Regions from separate parts of the Homo sapiens genome. Here regions 2 and 3 are each linked to region 1. Evidence: promoter capture Hi-C in human tissues and cell types (Jung and others, 2019). All regions are on one chromosome and are shown on one strand. Each heading gives the region's core, a stretch centred on a gene start or on the middle of the fragment in contact. The rest is flanking DNA. Distances are from core to core; before and after follow the strand shown. Region 1 holds the start of PI3 (peptidase inhibitor 3). Region 2 overlaps STK4 (serine/threonine kinase 4). Region 3 overlaps KCNS1 (potassium voltage-gated channel modifier subfamily S member 1).

Region 1 (3,915 bases), core at 941-3,440:
TTAACCTAAAGGAATGCTACTTCATGGAGGAATCTCAGGCATAAACCAGTGAAATTCTAAAGAGCAGGAGTTTCGCAGCATCTGTAACATCATCCTTTCTATGTGGTGTTGAAAAGATATAGATTCCTGGGAAACATTAATGAGAAGGAAGTGGGGAGCTGTAGTTGCAGCCATAAGGGTTGGCTGGTCACACTGGTAAGGCCGACAGTAGCCAGGTCAGGACTGATGGTGGATTGGAAAAAAAAGACCTGCTTATGGTTTATGTAATGTTTATTTATTTTTTGTGTTTTGTGTTTTTCCTGGTCCTTGGCCAAAGGCAAGATTTCCATATTTCCATTTCCTGGTGAAAAGGAGCTGGCAGCACTGGGGCTGATTATTGGATTTGTAATATGAAGCCCTAGCAATGTGCCTCCTGTTTCCTCCCCCCGCCCTGCTCTCTTTCACCATGGGACCGTTTCCCCTCTTCACTGGAGAGAAGAAGTCCCAATTCTACATCCATTTCCCCAAAGCATCCAGGAGCCCAGAAGTCATAGGAACCAGAAACAAGTGGAGCAGAAGGAACTCTTTATTGGAAAGTGGATGAGAGAGGCAGCTCCAGCCGTGGGCATCCTGAATGGGAGGAAGAATGGACAGTGTGGGAAGGGGAAGGGCAGCAGGGACTTAGGACCAGATGGGGCCTGTAGCTCTGGGGACGGCACAGGTGCAGCAAGGACCGGCTCCCTCTGTGGAAGAGAAGAGTATCAGAGGTGAGAGTCAGCACATCAAAGCACTCAGAGGCAGTGAGGAAGACAGATCATCCTTCTAGGCACTCTGGTTATAGCCTCTCAGACCCCTCAGTCTCCCAGTCTTTCTGTCACCTCCCACAACCTCCCTCCCACCAACCTGGGATGCTTCCCCACCGCTCAGCCTTCTTTTGTGTCTTCAGGGGTCTCCTCGTTCTCCAGCTAGTGCTCACCTCACTGGGGAACGAAACAGGCCATCCCGCAAGAGCCTTCACAGCACTTCTTGATTCCTGGGCAGTCAGTATCTTTCAAGCAGCGGTTAGGGGGATTCAACATGGCGCACCGGATCAAGATAATGGGGCAGGAGCCAGGCTTAGTGGAGACTGGACCTTTGACTGGCTCTTGCGCTTTGACTTTATCTTGACCTTTAACTGAAACTTGTCCTTTAACGGGATCTTGTCCATTGAATGGAACACGGCCTTTGACAGTGTCTTGACCTTTAACAGGAACTGTTAAAAGAAGAAACGAGCCCACATTTATACCCAGTAAGCCTCTGCTTCAGCTGCCATGTCTTTCCTCTGGGTCTGGGTCCATCCACTGCTTACTGCAGCATCCTCAAACCATGGCCTGAGTAGGGAAGGTACACCTCTGGGAGCTACACTCTTGGAAGGCTCTTCCTTTTTTGGGGTGGTCTACTGGACCAGAGTTCCCTTGAGTATTTGTTTCTTCCCCCTTCCTCCACTCCAAGTCTCTCAGGAGCAGTGGTCAGACTGGGGTGACACCCAGCAGTGAAGAGGACACATTGTCATTTGTTAGGAAGTGCATTGGAGTAGGAAAGAACCCTGAGCCACATACTAGGAGACTTGAGCCCCATCCTGGCTCTGGGAATTACCTTGGCAATTGCTCACTCATTTCTACATTTTTGGTTCCCTCCTTATAAAATGGGGGTCCTCAAACAACATGATTCCTGAAGGCTTGTTGTTTCTTAACCTCCTTTTAGAGTACTGATTACTCCAGTGCTTTTATGGGGCAGAGAAACGGGGGACTGTGTCCACACCCAAGGTTTAAAATCCTGGAGTTCATTATTTTATTGCACATTCTGCACAGGTATTGACATCTGAGGCCAAGGCCACATACCAACATTACTTCCACAAACAGTCCTGATATCTCAGTCACTGAGGTGGAAAGCACGTGGAGTCCACCAGCCAAAGTCCTATTTTTTCTGAATATGATGGCAAAGAACAGAAAGCTGAAATCTGGGCTCCAGTGCTGCCTACTGCTTCAGAAGTGCTCCCTGTCCTGGCCCAGGGTGTCCCAGAGGGTCTCCCCTTAGTCCAACCCAGCCCAGCAGGTCACCTGTTCACTCACCTCCCGTGACAGCTGCCTCTAGAACCAGCGTCCCAGCGATGAGGAACACCACCACGATCAAGAAGCTGCTGGCCCTCATGGTGTCAGGAAGGTGTTTGGCTAAGAGCTAAGGCCATACCAATCTTTATGCAGTCCAGCTTGGCCTGGCTCCAGGGGCGGGTCTGTGGTATTTACAAGGGATAATTCCTTAGCTGTATTGGGAAATATCCACCCCATTCTGGGAGGGACCTGGGGGCTTTCCCTCAGGATTATTCACAGGAAGAACTAATGGACATTACATCACATCATCTCTGATTGTCCCAAGAGTTTTCCTACTTTCTCACAGAGTAGAAGTGCTGGCTCACTTATTAGGTAACATTACAATGAAATTCTTCATGTTTTGAAATACAGTGAGACCCAAGAAGAGAAAGGAATCACCGAAGGTTATTCAGCAAGTCACTGGTAGATCCAGTCTTGATTACAAAACCAAGGTGTTTCTCCATTATGCTCTGGTGCTACAAACCCCACCCAGATCTACTTTATCATTTTACCACTCCCAGCATCAAACTGGGCATTTCCTTCCTTCTTCCCTGGTCCTGCAAAAAACTCTGTAAGACAAATTTGCCTTGAATACATAATGACTAATTATTGCACTTTGCTGTTTCAGAGACGGCCTTTCAGATGCATCAAGAAAGTAATTGGAAGGTGGAATTCTAGGTCTGAAGAGGGATGATGCCCTTGAAATCACAGTGGTAGGGAGAAAATAATCAGAAAGTAGTAGAAAACATGTATCATGTATACATTGGACATCTACAGTGTGTGTGTCCAGCATGCCTCCCCACTTCTTTGAACAGCACCCTGTTTCTTGTGAAGAATTGTTGTCTCTTTGAACCATCAACTTGTGAGTCTAATGGGGACTGCTAATCATGAAAGCCTGACCCCTGACCACAGGTAGGGGTGTGTGTGTGTGTGTGTGTGTGTGAGTGTGTGTGTGTGTGTTGTGTGTGAGACTTGGTCTGGTCTATTAACATATTTTATTTGAATGAGTAATGAAAGGGGAAAACGGGGGTTCCTTCTTCTGGAAAAGGTGATATATATGAACCAGGGAATTCCAGAAGTGGTTATCTAAGTCTGGGGGTGGAGATCAATTGTCTGAGAAAAACGACTCTAATACACTGAGACAAGGAGAGAAGTGATGGTGAGAGAAGATTCAGATGACACAGCCAGGTTTCCCTCCTTTACCTTGAGAGCAGTTCTTCACACACCCTTCTCATGGTTGGGTTATGAGGCAATAAATTAGCCCTCTGCTTCAGCTAGTCTGACTTACTATTCTGTCATTGTTACCAAAAGTTCTGAGTAATAGAAATGAATATCCTGAAGTTGGGTATTGTCAGGGACAGAATCTGAGTTAAGAAAGTCACTGAGTTGAGGTGGAGTTAAGGCAGGGAAGGTAACAAACTAATTATTGGACACTAATTCAGCTGGTGAAATCCCCACCCCTTGTCGATTTAGACTCTGACCACATGCCCACCAAGCCTGAAACTGAGGGAGACATAAACGAATGTCAGACTGTGGAAGCCTTTGGCTACCTTACACAAAAGCTCATTGTACAATAAGCCATACAAACAAATAAAAAGCTCACAGAAAATACCTATATTCTTTAAAGAATAGCATTAAAATGAGCTGCCAGGTAAAGGAGGAGAATATTTGCTATATCTATGCTCCATGCCTCTCCTCAGTTGCTTCATTCTCCTTCCTCCCCAGAGATAACTGCTTCCTAAGATTTTATGGTAATTAGCCCTTGCTTTCCTTTATAGTTATGCCACTTCTGTCTGTATTCTGAAAT
Region 2 (3,915 bases), core at 1,029-3,528, 99 kb after region 1:
TTTCTGTCACTAGAAAACAAATATACCTTGTCAGGAAATTTCTCTGATCCAAAACAAATTGACTTCTGGCCAAAAGGCTTCATCAAGCTAGACTGGTAAGCAATAGACTTTGTTGGATCAGCAAGCTGGGTGCACACATTCCTGAAACAAAACAAACTCCAGATCAAAGTTCATGACCCAAGAATAGTTATGGGGGAAAACTGAACTTTCTTTTATTTGGATCTAGCTTAGGAAGGGAGAAAATGGGCTTTCTCCTCCTCTCTGGCCAAGTGCAAAGTTCTTTGTTTAAAAAAGAAAGAGAGGCCAGGAGCGGTGGCTCATGCCTGTAATCCCAGCAGTGTGGGAGGCTGAGGCGGGTGGATCACCTGAGGTCAGGAGTTCAAGACCAGCCTGACTGACATGGTGAAACCCCGTCTCTACTACAAATACAAAAAAATAATCTGGGCATGGTGGCATATGCTGTAATCCCAGCAGAAGAATCGCTTGAACCCGGGAGGCGGAGGTTGCAGTGAGCCAAGATCGTGCCATTGTACTCCAGCCTGGGCGACAAGAGCGAAAATCCATCTCAAAGAATAAAAAGAAAAAAGAAAGAGAGAGAGAGACAGAACTATTAATTCGCACAGCAAATGGTGCAGGGGTGTGCATCCTGGATGCTTTGGTTTTTAAAACTTACTTGGCTATCAGACTTAACTACTAATTCAGCTGTCTTTCCAACCTAAAAATGCCAGTTCGAGTTATTTAGTCTATGCAAGAAAAGGTGGTCACTTCATTTTAAACAGGCTTGTGACTTTCCTTTTTTGTGTAAATATTGACCCCCTATAGTGATGCTATGAATCCTGATTCTATCATTTACTAGCTGCATGACCTTGGGAAGGAATCTTTCTCTCTGAACTTATTTCTTCAACTACAAAATGGAGATAAAGTAGTTAAGTCACAGGGTTATTGTGAAGTTTAGAGCCTACCCAGCTCAGTGCCTGATATATAATAGGTGCTCAACAAATGGTAGCTGTCATTTATTATTCCAGCAAGATCCTCAAATTGTCCTCTGTTTTCCGTATCCGCCACATAGCTATTTCAGTTGCCAAGCCCTGAAGACTAACAACTGCCTCTTGCATTTTTTAAAAACTTGCTTTAATTGCAAATAACAGAATCTGGCCACAGAAGAGGCACATTCCCTGCCTTTCCATTGATTCCCAGGTTTCAGGAGCAAAAGCAATTATGGAGTCAAATTACAGTATCCTGAGGTGCAACCCAGTCATGGCTCCCCATCTGAGGGAAAGAGGTAAAGTTGCAGGAAGATGGCTCTATGCTGTCTTTTGCAAAGCCCTCTGATCTGCTTCAGGCCCGAAACCTGCCTCCATGGGTGCTTGTCTGCTATATCTGGTAGATGTTGTGGAGCTCAAGGACTCGCTGAAACTGAATGATCTGGCTCGTCCAGGGAATCTCTTTACAGCCAGGTCATCTACTGAAGAGCCAAGGCAAGAGCAAGTTTCTGTTAGCAAGGTTCCCTGGAACAATTAACCAAGACTGACACAGGTCTCTTCCCCCAAAGAAGGGGCTGCATGGTTCGGTGGCCTGGGAGTGAGGACCCTGAATTCTAGTCTCAGCTCTTAACGCTAACTTGCTTTGTGATTTTGGCCATTCCCCTCTCTACACCTCAGTTTTGCGATCATCCGTACAAGAGGATCAGATCAGATGATCTCTATAGTCCCTTCCAGCTCTGACATTCTGTGTGTTCAGATTGAGCCTCCTGGAAAACAAATCTTAGTCTAATATTCATTTATCCTTTCCAGGCTGCTTAGCAGTAAAAGAGAAAAGAAAACAGTCACATATTTGAACGTGGGTCACAAAAGCAATCCCCTCTACCCCTGTGTGTAAGGAATGTGGAGCAACATGCCACGTGTATGATTTTTACATGAACAATGAGAGCTTCAAAAACGCTTTTCCTTTGTGGACTGAACACAGTCCCGTGTTTGCTGAGAGTCCCTGGTAGAGATCATGTCTCCTCTTAAGGCACTGGGCAGTATCTGTGCTGTGACTTTAGGCAGTTGAGAGAGTGGAGATGGATGAAAGGCATTGAAAGAGCAAAGGCCAATTTGCAAAGAGGGTGCCAGGCTTCTCCTGGGACTCAAAGAGTAAACATAAACTCTCAAAGCTTTCCCTTGGACATCACCAATAGCTCCAGAAGCCAGTGATGACCACACAAGGCTGAAACCACGGTACAAGAACTGTCCCAAACCTAATTTTTAAATGCAGCCCTGCAAAGGGGGAGGTTGGCTCCTGGGATTCAGTGACCCCCTAACAGCCTCCCGGTGTCCTCTGCCCTCATGTTCCACAGTACCATAATCTTACAGAAAAGAGGCAAACCGTTTAAAACTGTACCTGTACAGAGATGCCACCACACTGCGTGGGGAATCTATTTATAATTTATATATATATATGCATATTTATATTTTTTTAAAAGTCTTCCAGAAAGAACAATTGAAAGCTATTGGGAGAAGAAAAACAGACAATGTAAAACTTTCCCAGCTATCACTCAACTAGGAGTCTCTGTTCCTGGGGTTTAAAACTCTGAGTTAAAAGCGCCAATATAAATCCTTTGAGATAATATACCTGACCAATGTACATACACACATCAAGATGGCACGCTGACTGTCAAGAGAGCCCTTCCCACTGGCGCACATTCCTGAGTTCACAAAGGTGCTGTGGAGAGACGACAGAGCAGAAGTGCTGGCTAACAAACATGAGGCAAGCCATCCAGAATTCACCCAAAGCCTGGGTGGAGCTGGGGCCCTCACAGCCTGGCCTTGCTCAGAAGTTTTGTTGCCGTCTCTTCTTAGCCTCTATGGCATCCAGGATGGGCTGCCGCTTGGACTGGTACTTCTGCCGGATCTCTTCAATCTCCTGCTCCATCATGGGGTCCAGGGCCAAGAGCCTCTTCTGAAGGTCCTCCACTGTCCAACTCTTAAGCTAGAAGAGAAGTGGAAGGTATAGTCACGACAAAGCTTAAGTCAGTGGCAGAACAGTGCAGAAGCCCAGCCTTCCCAGGCACCCAGAGGGAAGGGAGACAGGAGGAAGACACTGTGGTCAGATCACAGGTTGAGTGGTGGTGGTTGGAAAGTGACAATTCATTCCAAAGCATGGCATACCTTGAAGCTTGTCTGAGATAATTTATCCCTGGAAGAGATCTAAGTGCTAACCGCTTTGATTTAATGTGCCTTGACCAAGAACTTAGTGAATAATACTCTCACCTCCCCTATCTTTTAAGTTAATTAAATATAGATTCATTGTTAGGGCATTAAAATAACAGTAACTTGCTGTATGTGAAATAATGGTTGCCTCCCCGTTCTTGTTCTGTCTACGAGATAAGCGTCTATCTGGACAGCGCCTTTCCCACTTTCAGGATACGACACCATGGAGGATCGATGCTGATGAGGCGCAGATGCCATCCCCTAACCCTGCCTTCCCACACCCCCAATGTCTTGGCACTGCCCTATTATCATCACCAGCATTTACTTGAGGCTACTATATACCAGGTAACAGTCTAAGCCCCTTGGGAATACAGACGCAACCCTTGGCAGGGGTTGGGGTAAGGGTGGGTAGTTAGAAAAACCTCAAACTTCTGAGATTAAGTTTCTATCATCCAAAGAAAAACAATGAGTTGATATATAAATTAATAATAATGGCTGGCATTTAGTGTTTTCTATGCACCAGACACTGAGTGCTTTACATATATGGATTCCTTTAATCCTCAGAGCAACCCATGCTACAAGGACATTATTATCCCTATGTTACAGATGAACAGCCCAAGGAGGAGGGTAGCTAAGTAACCTGCCCAATGTCTCCCAACTAGTAAGTGGCAGAATCAAGACTCAAACCCAGGCAGCATGGCTCTAGAGTCTATGCTCTTAACCA
Region 3 (3,915 bases), core at 384-2,883, 81 kb after region 1:
ATTCTCTTTCAGCACAGCTACCGTGAGGTGGGCATCTTGCTGCTGTACCTGGCTGTGGGTGTGTCAGTGTTCTCTGGTGTGGCCTACACAGCTGAAAAGGAGGAGGACGTGGGCTTTAACACCATCCCAGCCTGCTGGTGGTGGGGCACAGTGAGCATGACCACCGTGGGCTATGGGGATGTGGTGCCAGTGACGGTGGCTGGCAAGCTGGCAGCCTCAGGCTGCATCCTAGGGGGCATCCTGGTGGTAGCACTCCCCATCACCATCATCTTCAACAAGTTCTCCCACTTCTACCGGCGCCAGAAGGCTCTGGAGGCAGCCGTGCGCAACAGCAACCACCAAGAGTTTGAGGACTTGCTGAGCAGCATTGATGGGGTGTCGGAGGCATCTCTGGAGACATCCCGAGAAACCTCTCAGGAGGGACAGTCTGCAGATCTAGAGAGCCAGGCCCCCAGTGAGCCTCCACACCCTCAGATGTATTAAAACCAGGGATCCGTGACCCCCTGCCATGCCCCTACAGTAGAGATTCCTCCCCTGCTAAAGTTCTTCATGGTAGTGAGCCTCCCAGGATCACTCATGCTGTCCTGAGAAATGAGATTCAAAAGCTGCATTCCTTCCTCCAAAGGCCCAGGACAGGACAGTGCTACCCTAGATTCTGTGAGATTCTGCAAGCAACTCAGAAAGCTTTATAAACCTGCCTCCAAGCCATTCATGAAGCAGGCATGAGCCAGAGGGAGGAAGTTGAAAGGATACTAATGATTCCTGAGCACCTCCTGTACATGAACCAGGTCATGTTTGGCCTTGTGTTGGAGAAAGAGAATTATCCCCACTTCACAGATGAGGAAACCAAGGCTAAGAGATGAGCGATGCCTCTCCCAGATGTCACAATTAGAAGTGGCAGAGTCAGGTTTGGAATCTGGGCTTGTTGGTGTGCCTGGAGCAATGCTCCATCAACTCCATCTTTCTTCTGCCCTCATGAAGTTTGCGTGTGTTTTTTGGTGATTCATGGATCCCCAGAGTTGATCCACAAGATAAGAAATCCCTTTCAGAGCCAGGGAAGGGTCCAGACAGGAGATTTGGATATAGGAGCTCTGGATCTCAGCTGTGGTTCCTTTCTAGGAGCATCCAACAGGAGTCAGCAATCAAAGATGAGTCCTGGAGGGAAGGAGGATGAGTCCTGGGAGGAAGTACCATAGCATTGTACTTGCCTCTTTAGCTGGTATGCAAGATTTGCTAAGCAATAATCTTCCGACCTTCCTCCCAGGGCTGATGTGAGAGAAAGAAAATCTGAAGGGCCCCTGGCCTGAGATCTAGACAACCTAGCTGCGCCAAGACCTGCTGTGTAAAGTGGTCCAATCCCTGCCCCCAAGTCCAGATTCCAGCCCCTCTGTCAAATGGTCAGAATCTGTGACCCAGAGGGCAATGAAAGCCAAGGAGAGCAGAGGGGTCTCTAACTTAAAGCCAGCTCAGCTCTGAAATGTTCAGAGGGCTGACATATATGAATACTGGCTTCTAAGACCCTCCCCCAACAGTCTGACCTTGGCAGTTCCTTTCTGCCCATCACACAGACGTCCAGCCCTACATTGTCCAGCCCTACCTAGAGTACCCATCCAGGCCCATGTGTGAGAGTCCTCTCCCTTCTGGCCAGCTCCAGCCCCCTCACCCTTGCTGGGGGCATATCTCTCATACCCACCTGCTGAATCTTCTCTTCACTTGCTGAGAAAGTCAGAGGAGGGGATCCAGTAGCCCTTTCCACATACTGTGGCTACAGCACCCAGCACTGTGCTGTTGTTGTCTGACTGTGGCTATCTCTGTCCCATCACCCTGAGCCTCAAGATGGAAGACATTGTCTGCTTGAACTCTGGGCTTGGTGCAGAGTAGGTATTTGGTAAATGTTGAATAGATCAACCAATTCCTACAGCCCACTGGGTGCCAAGCTCAGAGGGGGAAAAAAAGATAGCCAGAGAGAGACCTGGCCCTCAAAAAGGTGTGAACAAGACTGAAAAGGAGGTCCGTTCAGCTCCGCCTGCCCTGTCCCTGCTTGGTTCTTGAAGTTTTTACAATATATTCCTTGTAGGTTCTTCACTCACTCACTCAACAAATACCCGTTGGAAGAGTCTTAAACTGGGGCTTCATGTGTGGCCTGCAGTCATGTTTCGGCTTAGTCCAACAGTGTTTTTATTATATTTTAAGAATCTGAATGCCTTTGCGTGAGGCATGCACTCTCAGGTTCCCCATAGTGTCTCCCCCGCTGCCACCCACAAACAGACACACATGCCGTTGTGTTATGCCCAGCCACTCTGATATACTGGCTTCTGACTTATGGGCTGCTTACTAGTCTCAAGAGATACAGTGGTGGAAAAATATATCCCTATACTCATGAAGCTTACCGACTAGTAGGGAAGATAGACTCTAATGCAATAATCACATAAATATAGCGAGCTCTACTAAGTACAGGTGTGTATAATGTATCAGGGACCATGGCCCGAGAAAGTGAGAAGGCTTTCCTGAGCAAGTGACAATCTAACCTGCCATCCAAATGATAAATTGCTAATTAAGCAAATGAGGTTCCAGGGGGGAGTACTCCAAGCAGAGAGAATGGCATGTGTGAAGGTGTGTGTCATACACAGGGCCTAGTACATAGTGGGCCCCCTACATACGCATGGATTCTGGGTCTCCAGATTGGAACAGAGGATGGAGCTAAGCAGCAAAGGGCCTCCCTTGAATTCACCACACACATACCAGCCCTTCTGCACACTCTGCTCCTTACATCTAGGCCCAGCTGAACCCAGGTTAGGGGCAGATCAGAAGGGCTGCGTGTAGCACCCTTATGGTCTTGCAGAACACACCAAGAAACCCGACGGCTTCCATATTTTCTGACCCTACAAACAGGTCCCTAATACTGATGTGGAGAAAGCTCAAGAGGGAATCATCTGGCCTGAGCCTACCATGAGGCTGTTTGTGGTCCTGGCAGAAAAGCAACAACTCGCTCCCCTTCCCATGTATCAGTGAAAACCATTATGCAAATAAAGAGCTGGGCCCCAGGACGTGTTTCTGCTTGTATGGAGATGGCTCCCTGACATGCTGTCTGAGTGATTGGAGAGGGTGGGCAATATGTGGAATGACTTGGAATCCACATTCTCAGGCTCCAGTCCTGGATTTGGCACAAACTTTGTGGTTGTGCCAGCCAGAACAGGTTGCAAGTGACAGGAATTCAGTTGGAACAAACTTGGTCAAAAAGGGTAATTTATAAAATAATTAAAGTGATGAATGACTGTTAACAATTAGAGTTTGAGGGTATAAGCAACAAACTGACATCAAGCAAAAAATGAATTTATTGGAAGATATATTAGTTTCCAGCAGCTGCTGTAACAAATTCAAACAAACTTGATGGCTTAAAACAGTAGAAGTGTATTCTCTGACAGTTCTGGAGGCCAGAAATCCAAAATCAAGATGTCAGCAGGGCCACCCTCCCTCTGGAGACTCCAGGGGGAAACCCTCTCCTTTTCTCTTCTAGTTTGTGGTGGCTGCCACCATTCTTGGCTTTCCTTGGCTGTGGCTGCATCACTCAAGTCTCTGCCTCTGATCTCACTTCAGTGTCTGTGTATGTCAAGTCTTCCAGTGCCTCTGTCTTACAAGGACACTTTTGATGACATTTAGGCCCACCAGGATAATCCAAGATGACCTCATCTCAGGATCCTTAACTTAACCACATTTGCAAAAAGACCCTTTCCCAAATAAGGTAATAGTTACGGGTTCCAGAGATTAAAATATGGACAGGTGTTTGGGGCCACCATCTGGCCCACTACAGAAGGGTATCTGTGAAATTCACCCGACCAAAGGAAGAGCTGACTGACGAGGCCTCAGGAAATACAGGAATGAGGGGAGCTCTAGGGACCTCAGTAGCAAGACTCA

Evidence for each region. Contacts are between HindIII fragments. The study calls those that stand out against the background at their distance.
Region 2: a fragment that was not itself captured here is called in contact with the fragment with the promoter of PI3 in region 1 in 2 of the 25 tissues and cell types used here (mesenchymal stem cells and small bowel).
Region 3: a contact is called between a fragment that was not itself captured here and the fragment with the promoter of PI3 in region 1, in 4 of the 25 tissues and cell types used here (dorsolateral prefrontal cortex, mesenchymal stem cells, mesendoderm cells and 1 more).

The regions. Positions count from the first base shown.
Region 1 is chr20:45,173,177-45,177,091 of GRCh38, reverse strand. PI3 (peptidase inhibitor 3) reads right to left here and starts at 2,190. Exons shown (of 3, transcript NM_002638.4): 1 at 2,091-2,190; 2 at 956-1,231; 3 at 548-722. The coding sequence starts at 2,169. The coding sequence ends at 957. RefSeq lists an enhancer at 1,401-2,600. The HindIII fragment of the contact is 10,589 bases long and covers 1-3,915 here.
Region 2 is chr20:45,074,073-45,077,987 of GRCh38, reverse strand. STK4 (serine/threonine kinase 4) reads right to left here. Exons shown (of 11, transcript NM_006282.5): 11 at 1-2,970. The coding sequence ends at 2,812. Among named protein-coding and RNA genes, the nearest start is that of KCNS1, 25 kb to the left of the region's middle. The HindIII fragment of the contact is 4,057 bases long and covers 250-3,915 here.
Region 3 is chr20:45,091,438-45,095,352 of GRCh38, reverse strand. It overlaps KCNS1 (potassium voltage-gated channel modifier subfamily S member 1), which reads left to right. Exons shown (of 4, transcript NM_001322799.2): 4 at 13-3,915. The coding sequence ends at 483. Among named protein-coding and RNA genes, the nearest start is that of KCNS1, 7.7 kb to the left of the region's middle. The HindIII fragment of the contact is 5,760 bases long and covers 1-3,915 here.